Regions from separate parts of the Homo sapiens genome. Here regions 2 and 3 are each linked to region 1. The links are contacts of gene promoters, found by promoter capture Hi-C in blood cells and fetal thymus (Javierre and others, 2016). All regions are on one chromosome and are shown on one strand. Each heading gives the region's core, a stretch centred on a gene start or on the middle of the fragment in contact. The rest is flanking DNA. Distances are from core to core; before and after follow the strand shown.

Region 1 (4,362 bases), core at 1-2,500:
CCAGTCTGGGTAACAGAATTAGGCCAATTTATTTAATTCCATTTGTTCATGTATCCAGCCAACAGATATTTATGGTGCACTTGTTGGGTGCCAGCCCCGCCCCCACCACTCCACCCTACCCCAGCAGGCGCTAAAGGAGAGCTGACATGATGGATAACGAAAAAGAAGACGCTGTCCTTCTATTCAGGGAGTTTAACATCTGGAAGAGCCGGGAGTTCTTTGTGCTAAAGGCCCTCTACAAAGTGCCTGAGATGCAAAAATAAGTCACTTTCTCTGTCCTCTCAGCAACCGAGTCGCATGTCGTTATCAAATTTTTATTTTCTGTAACTGTTTCCTTCCGTCTTGCTCCGTAGACAGCTTTTTGCAGCAGAGAGCGCTGCCGCGGGGCTGGTGTCTACTCTTCAGTAAGTGGTCAAAACCTGGCTACTGGAAGGAAATGCAATGGAATCGCTCCGCGCTCGAGTATTCTCTTTGGAACTACGGGAATGACAGCTCCAGTGGGACACTTGGAGGTCATGATGAACGCAAAGAACGTGAGAACACTTGCAGTCCTCGGGGTGGAAATGCCTTCTAGAAATACTAAGTATCCGTTCTCTCGTTGAGACTTTGGCAAACCAGGGATTTTAGGAAGGGTCTGGCACTCAACGTTCCTAAAATTGGTTTCCTAGATGGAGCCGGAGGGAGAGAGGGAGTCAGGAACTGCTGCTTTTCGTCGGAATGCCCGGAGGGGAGAAGAAGAAGGAGGAGGGGTGAGGGCGGGCGGCCAAACGCCAGCCGGCAGGGGACCCAGAGAAGAGGGACATCCCGGGCGACCCCGAGGAGCGCGGCTTGGGCACCGCAGTGGCCGCGGCTAGTGGGAGACCTGAGGGGAAAGGGAGAGGGCAGGGGCGAGGAACCCAGGGAGCGCGCGCGGATTGGTCCTCTCCTCGGGGCGTGCGCTCCTGTGCGCCAAATGATTGGTGGCAGGAAAGTAGCAGGTAAACCGGCTCCCGCCGCCTCGCCATTGGTCAGCGGCCTCTCTAGCCGCCACACAACTGGCCAGCGGGCTGCCGAGCCGCGCGCGGATTGGCTGGGGGCGGCCGCCGGGACCGGCTCCCTTCGGGCGTTCGGATTGGCTGGCGGGAAGAGGCAGGTATCCGGGCGCTGCGGCTCCTCCATTGGTGGGCGGGGAAGGGGGGTTGGGCACAGCGATTGGTGGGCGGGGGGCCGGGCCTGGGCCGGCGGGGAGCGGATTGGTCGGAAAGTAGGTTAGTGGTGCGACATTTAGGGAAGGCAGAAAGTAGGTCAGGGACGGAGGTGCCTGTTTACCCGCGCCGGACTCACCGCCGCCGCCGCCGCGGGATCCGAGTGCGGGCGCGGGCGCGGGCGCTCCCGGCGAGCCACGGTGAGTGTCAGGCCGGCGGCGGCCAGCGACGCGATCCCGCGCACCCCGTCGGGGGCCGTTAGCACCCTCGCGGGCGCTGCGCCCCTGCCGCCGCCCCGGGGGCAACCCGGCCGCCGAAGAACCCTGCCCGACGTGCCCGCTGCCGGCCTTAAAGGGCCCGTGACCGCTCCCTGCCCCCACCCGGGCCGTGGGGAGGCTGCGCCCCTTAAAGGCGCCGCGCCCGTCCGCCCCCATCCTCCTCGCGGGGGCTGCCGCTGCGGGCTAGGGCAGGCAGAGGTGCTGCAGGAGCCCTTAAAGGGGCCGGGAAAGTGTTCGCTGGAGTACCCACCGCCCTTCCGCGGGCATCGCTACCTGGCGGGGGGAGGGGGCAGCTAGCTGCCTCTTAAAGGGATAGCTCTGCCCTTGGGGGCAGTGACTCGGCCGAAGAGGACTCCTAGATGTGTCCCCGGGAGCTTCGGGGATCCCCGAGGGGACCATGCCTGGTGGCTGCCCCTCAAGGGCGTTGGGCGAACGGTGCCGCGTCTGCCCTTCCTCCCCGCTTCACTTCCCTTTCGGGAGCCCGCGAGGCTGGGTGGGGGCGGGGAGGGCGTCTCCGTCGGGCTTGGGGAGTCCAAGTCCGCCCGCCCCTTCGGCCCTGTAGCCAGGGCTGGCGCTGCACCCGGGAATCCCCGGCCGGCACGGGGCCGACCCCAGCCTGCGAACTTTCGTGGGGCCTGTGCCGTCCAGGTCCTGGGCGGCCCTCAAGGATGCCCCGTGGGTCTGCGGGCAGGTGCGCGTCGGCCTGGGGATGTCGCCCGGAGCCCGGGTGCGGGCCGGCCTTGGAGTCCCAGAGCTCCGCGGAGGGCGCAGCGAGCCTGGCTCCAGCTCCGGGTTTGACAGATGTCAGGGAAGAAAAGGTTCCCGCTCGGCTATTGCCGGGCGTTGACATCCCAGAGAGCTTCCCGTTTGCTTGGAAGAAGACGAGGAAGGTAGAGGTGAACGTCGACCTTGTGGGGCGCATGTTAGCCTCCCCGAGGGGTCGCGAGAGCCGGCAGCGGGGTGAGCTCAGGTGCCCGCCGGCAGGAGCTGGGGAGGGAAGGGGAGTGCTGGACACCGGCGCCTGCTGTCAAGTTCTCGCCGGCCGGTGAGAGACCCGCTGCCGCCGCGCACCCCGCACCTCCTGACCCCTCTCCCCTCTCCGCCTCGGCCCCTTCCCGGTCACCTAGCGTTGTTTTGGCGCTTTGGCGCTTGCGGTCTCTTCCTTCTTCCACCGCTACTCCTCAGCGAGGAATTATTAGCCAAGTTTTCTCACCCAGCTTCCAAAAATCAGATTCCGTATTTGTGAACAAGCTTTTCTTGACACTACCCGTATACCCGTATTTCCAGCATCGTCGTTTTATTAAACATCCATAAAAGCTGCCCCTTAGATGCATTCATTTCCCACGACACCTGCTTGCTTGTCATTTGTCCTTCTGACATCTGCTGTTGTTCACCCCTTTAATCTATTATTAAATGACAACTATTATTTTAATTCTTCTGGTCTCATTGATATCCGGATCTGTGAATTTGGGTTGGTGGAGTTTTTAATTAATGTACCCGTTGAATCATGAGCTTAAAATAATCATTGCTGCTCCTGAGCAGTTTTGAATAATATCATGCTCTCTCTGCTTGCAAGACTTAAAAAAATTCGCTGGTGTTATATTTGATTTCCATATCAATGGAATTCCCAAATATTTTTGAAAATACAAAATTCAGTCTTTCAGTCCATGTTTTGTTACTCAGATCATTTTACTGATAAGTCTTTAACGCAGCTTATAGAACATATTTAGAAGGTTTGGAAATTTCCTGGACAGGATTTGAAATTGCCTGTATCATCTGAAGCTGGTTCTGTAGAAGCATTTTGGTTTTGATTGTAGATGCAGCCAGTGAATGATAACAATAAGTTAAAACTGTAGTTAAATTTGTTCTTTATTCAACCCTCTGAAGAACGAACAGATCTGGTAGAAAAGCACTAACCTGGGAGTTAGGAGCTGGACATCCTGGTTCTAGTTTAGGCTTGGGCTCTCATGGCCGTTCCAGTCGGGGCAAGTTATTAAAGATTTCTAGGTTGTGTTTGCCTCTGATGGAAAGTAAGACGGTTGAACTAGGTGATCTCAAAGGTTCCTCTCTTTTGAAGTTCTGTAAGTCTCTAAATATTTAATACATTTGAATTCAGGTTGGTATTTACCTCCTGGCACCTCCAGAATATCTGAGCTGAAGCCCTATTTTCATAAGAAAGTTAAGCAGATCAACAGATGGTGTTTTGAAGAATCCATTTCAAATGATTTATAAAATGATGACTACTTACGAGTTTGTCTGCTATTTGCAGAAGAGGTTTGCATGCCACAGGGCAGGAAAAGGAAGTGGCCATGTTTTCAGATTTATCCCTTCACACCAACAATCTCTGTGGAATTTATATGCTAAAAGATGGAGAAGCACCATAGAAAGATTTGGCTGTATTAACAAAACTGCATATGAAAAGGTAAAAACTAGATAGTTAATATCTCTCTTTGGTGTAAGGGTTATAATGTATCTGAGCTTTCTTTGTGATTTCATCATCAACTCTCACTGTGGTAGGAAAATCAATATTAAATAAACAGTTTCAGCCCCGTGATTACATGCAGTGATTTTAGGAAGCATCATGATAACTAAAGTAGGTACTTGCAGGGAAGTAAAATATCCTTTCTAGACCTTGAGGTTTCGTTGGGAGCTAGGGACACAGGCATGTTATCCTTCTCCACAGTCTTTTTTCATTGTCACCTTATCACAAGACTCAGATTTATCCCAAATACCCACCTTGTCTTTTCTTCTCCCTCTCATGAAATAAGACCTGCTCTGACTCAACCCCCTCAGCATCTCTTACTTCCCACCCAAAATGTCCTGTCTCTATCCCCATCGTCCCCTCATCTCCTCCCAATTCAGAGAAAGCAAGTGGACCTCTCCTCTGTTCCTTTTCTTGG
Region 2 (4,556 bases), core at 2,005-4,504, 2.4 Mb before region 1:
ATCCTGAAGAGATATGTTAAGGGACTGGGACTTTATCTTGGGGATCATTATTTCCCAGTTATGATCATGGAACTCTTTAAAATTACAATGTAAAGAAATACCAATAATAACACAATATGTTTAAAACGTTTGATTCTTTAGCCTTCTTAAAATCTAAATAGTATAAAAAAATGGAATCATTTTATTTAAATCCCCCAAATACCAGAGATGAAGTAAATCATCTTTTATTTTCATCTTACATTTGGTTATCATGAGACATGCAAACTCCTCCAATTTTAATGAGAACAGTGTTTTTGTGTCTTTTTATCACATATCCGCTTAATATTAGGTGTAATATTGCTAAGTCGGATTCGCATATGAGGTGCAGCATCAAGTCTTTTCCTATATTTTGTTTTTGTTGCAGCGTAATATGAAAACCCCGTTTCACACAGGTGCATTGTAGCAAAAGGAAGAAGTACACGCACTGCACGCCTTGCAATGCTTGGGTATTCCTGAATTAGGCTACTCCAAAAATCATTTAGTGAAAGTTCACTAAAATTTTGCTTCACTTGAGAATCAGATGTTAAATCAATCAGGCTCTCATAGTCCCGTGCTACTAATGAAGCTGGTTTAACAGTAACTGTAAATGGATTTCTAACCCAAGCATTATTGTCATTTGTTACAGGAAAGTATTTTAACAGAGTAGCGCGCAAACCCCTTAGGTGCTGCACAATGGCACTGCAAATATCTTTATCAACTGTAGAATTAATTTCAGTCAAAAAATCACTGAGTGTAGGAAAACAATCAAAGTTTTCTTCTTCTACAGATGAGGCCCAAAATTCCAATTTTCTTAACAATGACGACATTTTATCAAATACTGTAAAAACGGTCACATTTTTTCCTTGCATTGACAAATTAACTTCATTTAATTTAGTAAAAATATCTGCAAGATATGCAAGTCTTAGCAGCCAAGATGAATTTGTTAAACAATCAGATAGTCGAAAAGCAGAATCCATGAAAACCAAAAGTTCACGACGAAGTTCAAAAAGTCTTACAAGAACTTTACCTCGAGAAAGCCACCTCACCTCTGTATTTAGAAGAAGTGCTGTGTGCTGAGCACCCATTTCCTCACATAAAATTTTTAATAGTCTGGATTGATGTGGTCGAGCTTTAATATAATTGATGATTTGTACTGCCTGGTCTAGCACATTTTTTAGAGATGTAGGCATTATTTTAACTGCCAGTGCATGTCTGTATAATAGGCAGTGACTACTGGTGCTTTCGGGAGCCACATATTTTATTAAGGTGACAGCTTCGGCAATTTTCCCATCCACTGCCCTAGAAGCATCACTACAAACATCAACACATTTTTCCCATTCAATTTCATGTTTCTGCATAAAACTGTTGATACAGTTGAATATTTCTTCACCGGTAGCATTACTTTGCAAAGATTCACACAGGAGTAGGTCTTCCTCAATAGACTTATTAAACCTATAACGAACAAACACAAGCAGCACAGCAAGTCCTGAAACATCAGCTGATTCATCTAGTTGCAGTGAAAACCCATCGCAAATTTTCAGTCTACAAACAAGCTCTTCTTCAATGTCAGCAGCTAGATCCTTAATTCGACGTGCAACAGTACTGTTTGATAGCTGTACTGCATCTATTTTTTTACTATATTGTTCATCAAACATCCGCATCACTACATCTTTTGCACAAGGTTTGATAAGCAATTCTCCAATAGTATGAGCCTCTCCACTCAGCGCTATATGGTAACTTACATTGTATGATGCTTCTGTAGCACTTTCATTATCTGTATTCACAATTTTAGGTGTTGGGGGTTTATTATTTTCAGGTGAATCGAGATGTTGCTTGAAAAAGCTTATGTCTTTGTCTTTATATGCAGCATGTTTAGTTTCCAAATGTCTTCGAAGCTTACTAGGGGCTAAAGAGCTATTTGATAAAATTTTCTTACATAATACACACTGAGCATGAGGTGCATCTCTATTTCCGAAGTAAGTAAATCCAAAAGACAAATAACTTTCATCATATTTTCTTCTTTTTGGTTTTTTACTAAATGTTATTTTGTTGGAATTGGATATAAATTTGACCCTGGAAAGCTCACCTTCTGATTTTTTAGAAACTGAAGGTTGCAACTGCTTATCTTCACTTTGTAATATTCCAACCTTCTGATCATTTGATTCAGACACAATCTGATAACAGAAAGATTCCACTTCTTGTTTAAGACTTCCTTGTTTCAGCAACAGATCCATGGGCAATGAGTTTGTGGTACAAAACATGGTTAATTTAGAATAGACATTGAGTATCGCAAATGTGTTGAAATTATAAGACAGGATACAAAGAAGAGGAGCAATCATCAAAGAGATGATATACAGCAACACATCAGTTAATTTGTAAATGCTGCCTATTCATCAATGCGCAGATGGAACATCATACGTTCATGTATCAGGTGATCTCTCATGCGACTTCCTGGTGCTCTCAGGTATGGTACACCTTTTCTTAAAGGTAGATTATCACATAAAAATAAAAGCTATAGAAATGAGTTTAGCAGTCTTAATCTCATATTTAAATAAACATATTAAAATCAACCATAAAGAAAAACCAATATTAGCATCAATCATTTTCTCAAAACATTTATTAACTTAGAGAATATTAATATTCTATAAAACATAATTTGGGAATCACTGAGCCAATAAATTATTAAGAGTTGTTATACATATTTTTAAGAAAGGGACCCTGAAGAATATGTCCCATGGCAGGGGTTGGCAGGCTTTTTTTGGTCAAGGGCCATATAGTCTCTGTTGCAACTACTCAACTCTGTAGTTGTAACATGACAGCAGCCATAGACAATACATGAAAGAATGGACACAGGTGTGTTCCAATAAAACTTTACGTACAAAACCAGACAGCATGGGCCATAATTTATCAGCCCTGTCTCATGGTATGTAGTATTGTGAAATCTCTTTTAGCTTTTGATGCCTACTGTCATTAGATGTATTAGTTGTTGATACTATTATATATCTGAAGTCCCTTCAGGGCTAGCAACAATTCTGAAGAAGTGAATTAAACACACACACAGTTCCAAGTTTTGCGAGATACATAATTCTACTGTATCCTAAATGTTATGCGTTAACAATGAAGAATAAATTGTATATCAAAAGTTAGGTACTGTTTCTCTGGACTTAAATTATATAAACGTTTATATTATCCAAATTAAGACTCAATGAAAGTAATGTATATTTTTACAGATAACTCTGCATTCTATTTATACAACAGGTGACGACTTAACCAGGACCTAAAAAAAAAAAATAAACTCTCATTTAAGAGGTTTATTTCTCATATAATAAAACAAATCAAAATTAAAAGGATAATGCAATCTAAGGATTGCTAAAGAATACTATTAACTCTATAAATCAAGGCATACAAATTATGTCTGTCCAAATATAGCTACTTTTGATTTAAACTTTATAACCTGGCTATAGAGTAAGTTTTGTATTCTCATGTTAGATCTTGAGTCAAAATGGTTCTCCTATTAAGGGGTAGAGGATAAGATACCTGAAATAAGGTGTTCTCCTTTCTGTAATCCCTCTCTCCACCTTGGCAGCTTGAAATGCACTCTTCAAAAGAATAAAATTAAGGGATGGGGTGGGAAGGGGAGTAACCAAAAGCCTAGAATGAGAAAAATTAAAATTAGATACAGTAACAAGCAGAACTAACTATAAACCCGTAAGATGGGTTTATTCTTTCTGGATCTAAGCAGTGAAAATGATTCTTTACTGCAATGCAGATCTTGGACTGAAAGAGAAGACGCCTAGCATAGTAAAAATTCTAACATTTTCATCCTGTTCAATATCTTGGCAATTTAGATGCTTTGAGATGTTCCCCCACCTACTGACTTCATAGAAACATGTTAAAACAACACCACCACCACACTTTCTAGAACTTGAAACTAAGCCTAATTTTTAAAAGTACAACCTCATCAATGTCTCTAAAACTAGGTCTTGAATCTAAAATGGAATTATACATAGAACTATTACATGAAGCAGTTCTTTCACTACAATCATTTTTAGCCCCCCAGTGACCAATCTCCTCAGGTAAACAATGTCTAATGACTGATGATTGTTTACTGTATGCCAATTACTGCTAAATCCCTCATATAGATTATCTCATCTATGAAGACACAAGGATTATTAATAACCCCACTTTAGAGATAAACAGACACAGGTTAACACATCTCGCTAACACCTCTTGTAAGTGAAAAACCAAGTTCAGAGCCCAAAAAGTTTGACTGCATAGCCCATGTGTCTAGCCATTACTTGGGTGTTCCTGAATACTTTTAATTCCCCAACTACTAAAAAATCTCGTTACTAGGAGTTGGGTTATGCAGCGAAACGGATGAACAATGGATTATAACTGCCAGAAAGTCGAGGGTCTCATACTAGCAACAGCATAAAGCCCTGCTTCTTATTGGGAGCAAAAAAGCAGATTCTCCTTCCACAGTCTCCTTTTGGATTTTGCAACGGAGAACTCTGTGGAGCTGCTGGTTCACGTAAAAG
Region 3 (2,951 bases), core at 4-2,503, 2.5 Mb before region 1:
AGGAAACGAATCCTTGCTGGCAATTCCTTACTTAACATCAAGGAGCACATTCGGGCAAAGTACTGATCCATTAAGGACTGATAAGAGAAGAATACATTCATTGGAAGAGCTAAAGCAAATGTGTTCAATTTACAGCTTTAAGACTTCTAAAATTATAACCCAGTTAATGGCTAAATATGGCAATCCCTTATGATGTCACAAAAATCAATAGCTTGATTTAAAGACAAACTACTTGTACTACTTTCATCAGCTACACACGTACCTTGGCTCGTTCATGGTCTAATCTAGGTCCCACTGTCCTCATTATCTGACAGAGGCACTCCAAATCCTCTCCCATATCTTTGAGTTGGACTCTCTTCTTCTTTTCCAAAAGCTACAAGAATAAAAGGCCATGGTGACAAAGTTTTAGTTACTCTGGTTTAGGCGTAGTACTTTCTTTCCCTTTATGTTTGCACTGACTCATTCACAGTTCCTACAGAATCTAGTATAGGGCTTTCTACCAGTCTGGTTGATCAGTTCTAACTCTACTTTGTCAAACACACCACGTATTTCAAATTATTCTGTTTAGTAAATTTTGTTGCACATCTGTATTTAACTAGTCAACCTCCCTCTTAGATGAATAATTGACTCATTTCCTCCAAACGACTGACTACATTCGCCTAACTTCCCTGTCACACTTACTGTTTTGATGCACTTATGAAGGATAGATTCGTGAATAAGATCAAGCTTGCCAAGCTCTCCAATGAATTTGATGTTTCCCAACATCTTGATCTTAGCAATGGCTCTCTGTTCCTCCTCCTCGGGGAGGAGGGGATTTTCACGCTTATCATAGACTGAAAAAGATACCAATGAAGTAAGCCAACATTCAGAATTAAGCTGAAAATATACAGTAGTACTTATTATCAGCTATAAGTCTTACCATCAACATTTCTAGTTCGGTTTTCAAATTCATCTTGTAATTTGGAAATTAGGAGGCGTCTGAATGTCTGGAAAAGAAGACATTGTCATGCTTTATTAAGGAAATTTTTCAAGTCAACTTTAAAACAAGCAAACAAAAACTACCACTTACGGTGCTTTGCTTCTGTCCTGGTTGACCCTCTGCTGCTGGGCCATCAAAGTTTGGTGCATCTTCTGCCAATCGCAGACATAGCTGAGCATACAGTGAGCTATACTTTGGCTCTTCTAGGGCTTTGTCCACAATCTACAGAAAATGTCATTGCTTAAACTAAATATGAAAACTTCTCCAAGAACCCTTCCTTTAGGAAAAATACAACCACCTAAATGTTAGCTATTACAGTCTACCAAAAATGTCCAGTTATACAGATTTCATCTAGTCACATCCATCTCCTGGGAGTCAGAAAATGCCATGGATATCAAAACTTTCAAGTCTACATAAACTGTCATACAATGCATTTCCAAGACCTAAATACGGTGTTTTCCACAAAAGAAAAAGAACAGCTTGCTAAGCACTCCCATTTACCTCTTCAACCATACCATGAACTTAACATTTACCTCTTCAATCTAATGCTACTAAAGTCAGTGGTTCTTTTTAATCACCATCAGTATTCAAAAATACATACCTATCTAACTCACACCTAAGGGTTTTAAGTAGTAATCCAAGTGTAAAAAAACACAACTTGAGTTTGTTAAACAGTTCCCTCTCCCTTTTGAGTTAAGCCAATATTTAAAACTTACCAGCAGTATGACCCCTTTAAGGATGAGTTTAGACTCTACACCCACATTGAGGAGCTCAAGGCATAGCTTGTCAAACTTTTCAGGAGTAAGCTTATTTAGTATGCTGGAGAAAAAGGAATTACATTTTAAGTGTTAGCTAATACACAGAATTTGAATTGAAAAACTGCTTTTAAATTATACTGATTTTTCTTCTAACTTGCTCCCTTTAAAAAATCAAGACATGTTTTCTTACTCATCTAAAACCAAAGGGATGCTGAAATAAACCTGTTATTTTAATTACAATGATTTGAATTGGACTGGGGGGTCCCCAGCTGTTTGACAAGAATCCTTTCTCACTTTCTCAAGGTTAGAGCGCAAAGATCTCATTATCAAGGCTAGACCATGAACTAAGACCATTATATTCCCTGCCTCACTGGCTTAAATAACATAGCACTTCCCTTAGTCAAGGGAAATGCTAGCATGACAGGATTATGGATTGCAATCCAATGGCTGAAAGCAACGGGAAGCCCCAAAATATGACGTGCTGTTCTTCAGTTCAAGATACATTTTTTTTTTTTGAGACACAGTCTTGCTCTGCACCCAGGCTGGAGTGCAGTGGCGTGATCTCGGCTCACTGCAACCTCCACCTGTGGGGTATTCAAGTGATTCTCCTGCCTCAGCCTCTCTAGTAGCTGGGACTACAGGCGCCTGCCACTACGTCCGGCTAATTTTTGTATTTTTAGTAGAGATGGGGTTTCAACATGTTGGCCAGGCTGGTCTCAAACTCCTGACCTCAAGTGATCTGCCCACCTCGGCCTCCCAAAGTGCTGGGATTACAGGCGTGAGCCACAGTGCCTGGCCAGTTCAAGATATTTTTAAAAATTGCTACCATGAGGATTCATTAAAACATACATACTCTGGGCATGAACCTTGCCTTCTTAGTAATACAGCACACACACCAAACACAGCTAATCCACACTTCCCATCTTTTAGTAAAACAGACCTTGAAACTTACCCTCTTACTTTCCTGAAGATTGCATCATGTCGTTCTTTTTCGTTTGCGGAGTTGTTTGCTGCGGAGTTGTCATCTCGTCTAGTGCTTCGTGCAGGAATCCATTTCTGAGCGTTTTGCCCTGGGGTTTTCCCCAGGAACTCGCTGATTAATAAAAATCAGCAAAAACACTTATTGTCACACACCAAATGTTAAACATCATAAATTCTCTTACATAGAAAAAAGTAATTTAGGCTTTCTCGACTTCCCCTCCAAGAAAGCCAAC

The links. The method cuts DNA at HindIII sites, captures the fragments that hold promoters and counts their contacts. A CHiCAGO score of 5 or more calls a contact.
Region 2: a contact is called between a fragment that was not itself captured here and the fragment with the promoter of BMAL1 in region 1, in 1 of 17 cell types (fetal thymus). The highest score is 7.2, in fetal thymus.
Region 3: a contact is called between a fragment that was not itself captured here and the fragment with the promoter of BMAL1 in region 1, in 1 of 17 cell types (total CD8 T cells). The highest score is 5.4, in total CD8 T cells.

What each region holds. Positions count from the first base shown.
Region 1 is chr11:13,276,540-13,280,901 of GRCh38, forward strand. It overlaps BMAL1 (basic helix-loop-helix ARNT like 1), which reads left to right and starts at 1,251. Exons shown (of 20, transcript NM_001297719.2): 1 at 1,251-1,384. RefSeq lists silencers at 852-1,501, 1,572-1,641, 1,922-2,261. The HindIII fragment of the contact is 3,232 bases long and covers 1-2,711 here.
Region 2 is chr11:10,852,589-10,857,144 of GRCh38, forward strand. ZBED5 (zinc finger BED-type containing 5) reads right to left here. Exons shown (of 3, transcript NM_001143667.2): 2 at 3,556-3,669; 3 at 118-2,498. The coding sequence starts at 2,357. The coding sequence ends at 276. Among named protein-coding and RNA genes, the nearest start is that of ZBED5, 3.2 kb to the right of the region's middle. The HindIII fragment of the contact is 2,687 bases long and covers 1,912-4,556 here.
Region 3 is chr11:10,803,218-10,806,168 of GRCh38, forward strand. It overlaps EIF4G2 (eukaryotic translation initiation factor 4 gamma 2), which reads right to left. Exons shown (of 22, transcript NM_001418.4): 4 at 2,690-2,830; 5 at 1,696-1,798; 6 at 1,070-1,201; 7 at 920-986; 8 at 682-833; 9 at 263-373; 10 at 1-77. Among named protein-coding and RNA genes, the nearest start is that of SNORD97, 3.1 kb to the left of the region's middle. The HindIII fragment of the contact is 1,059 bases long and covers 725-1,783 here.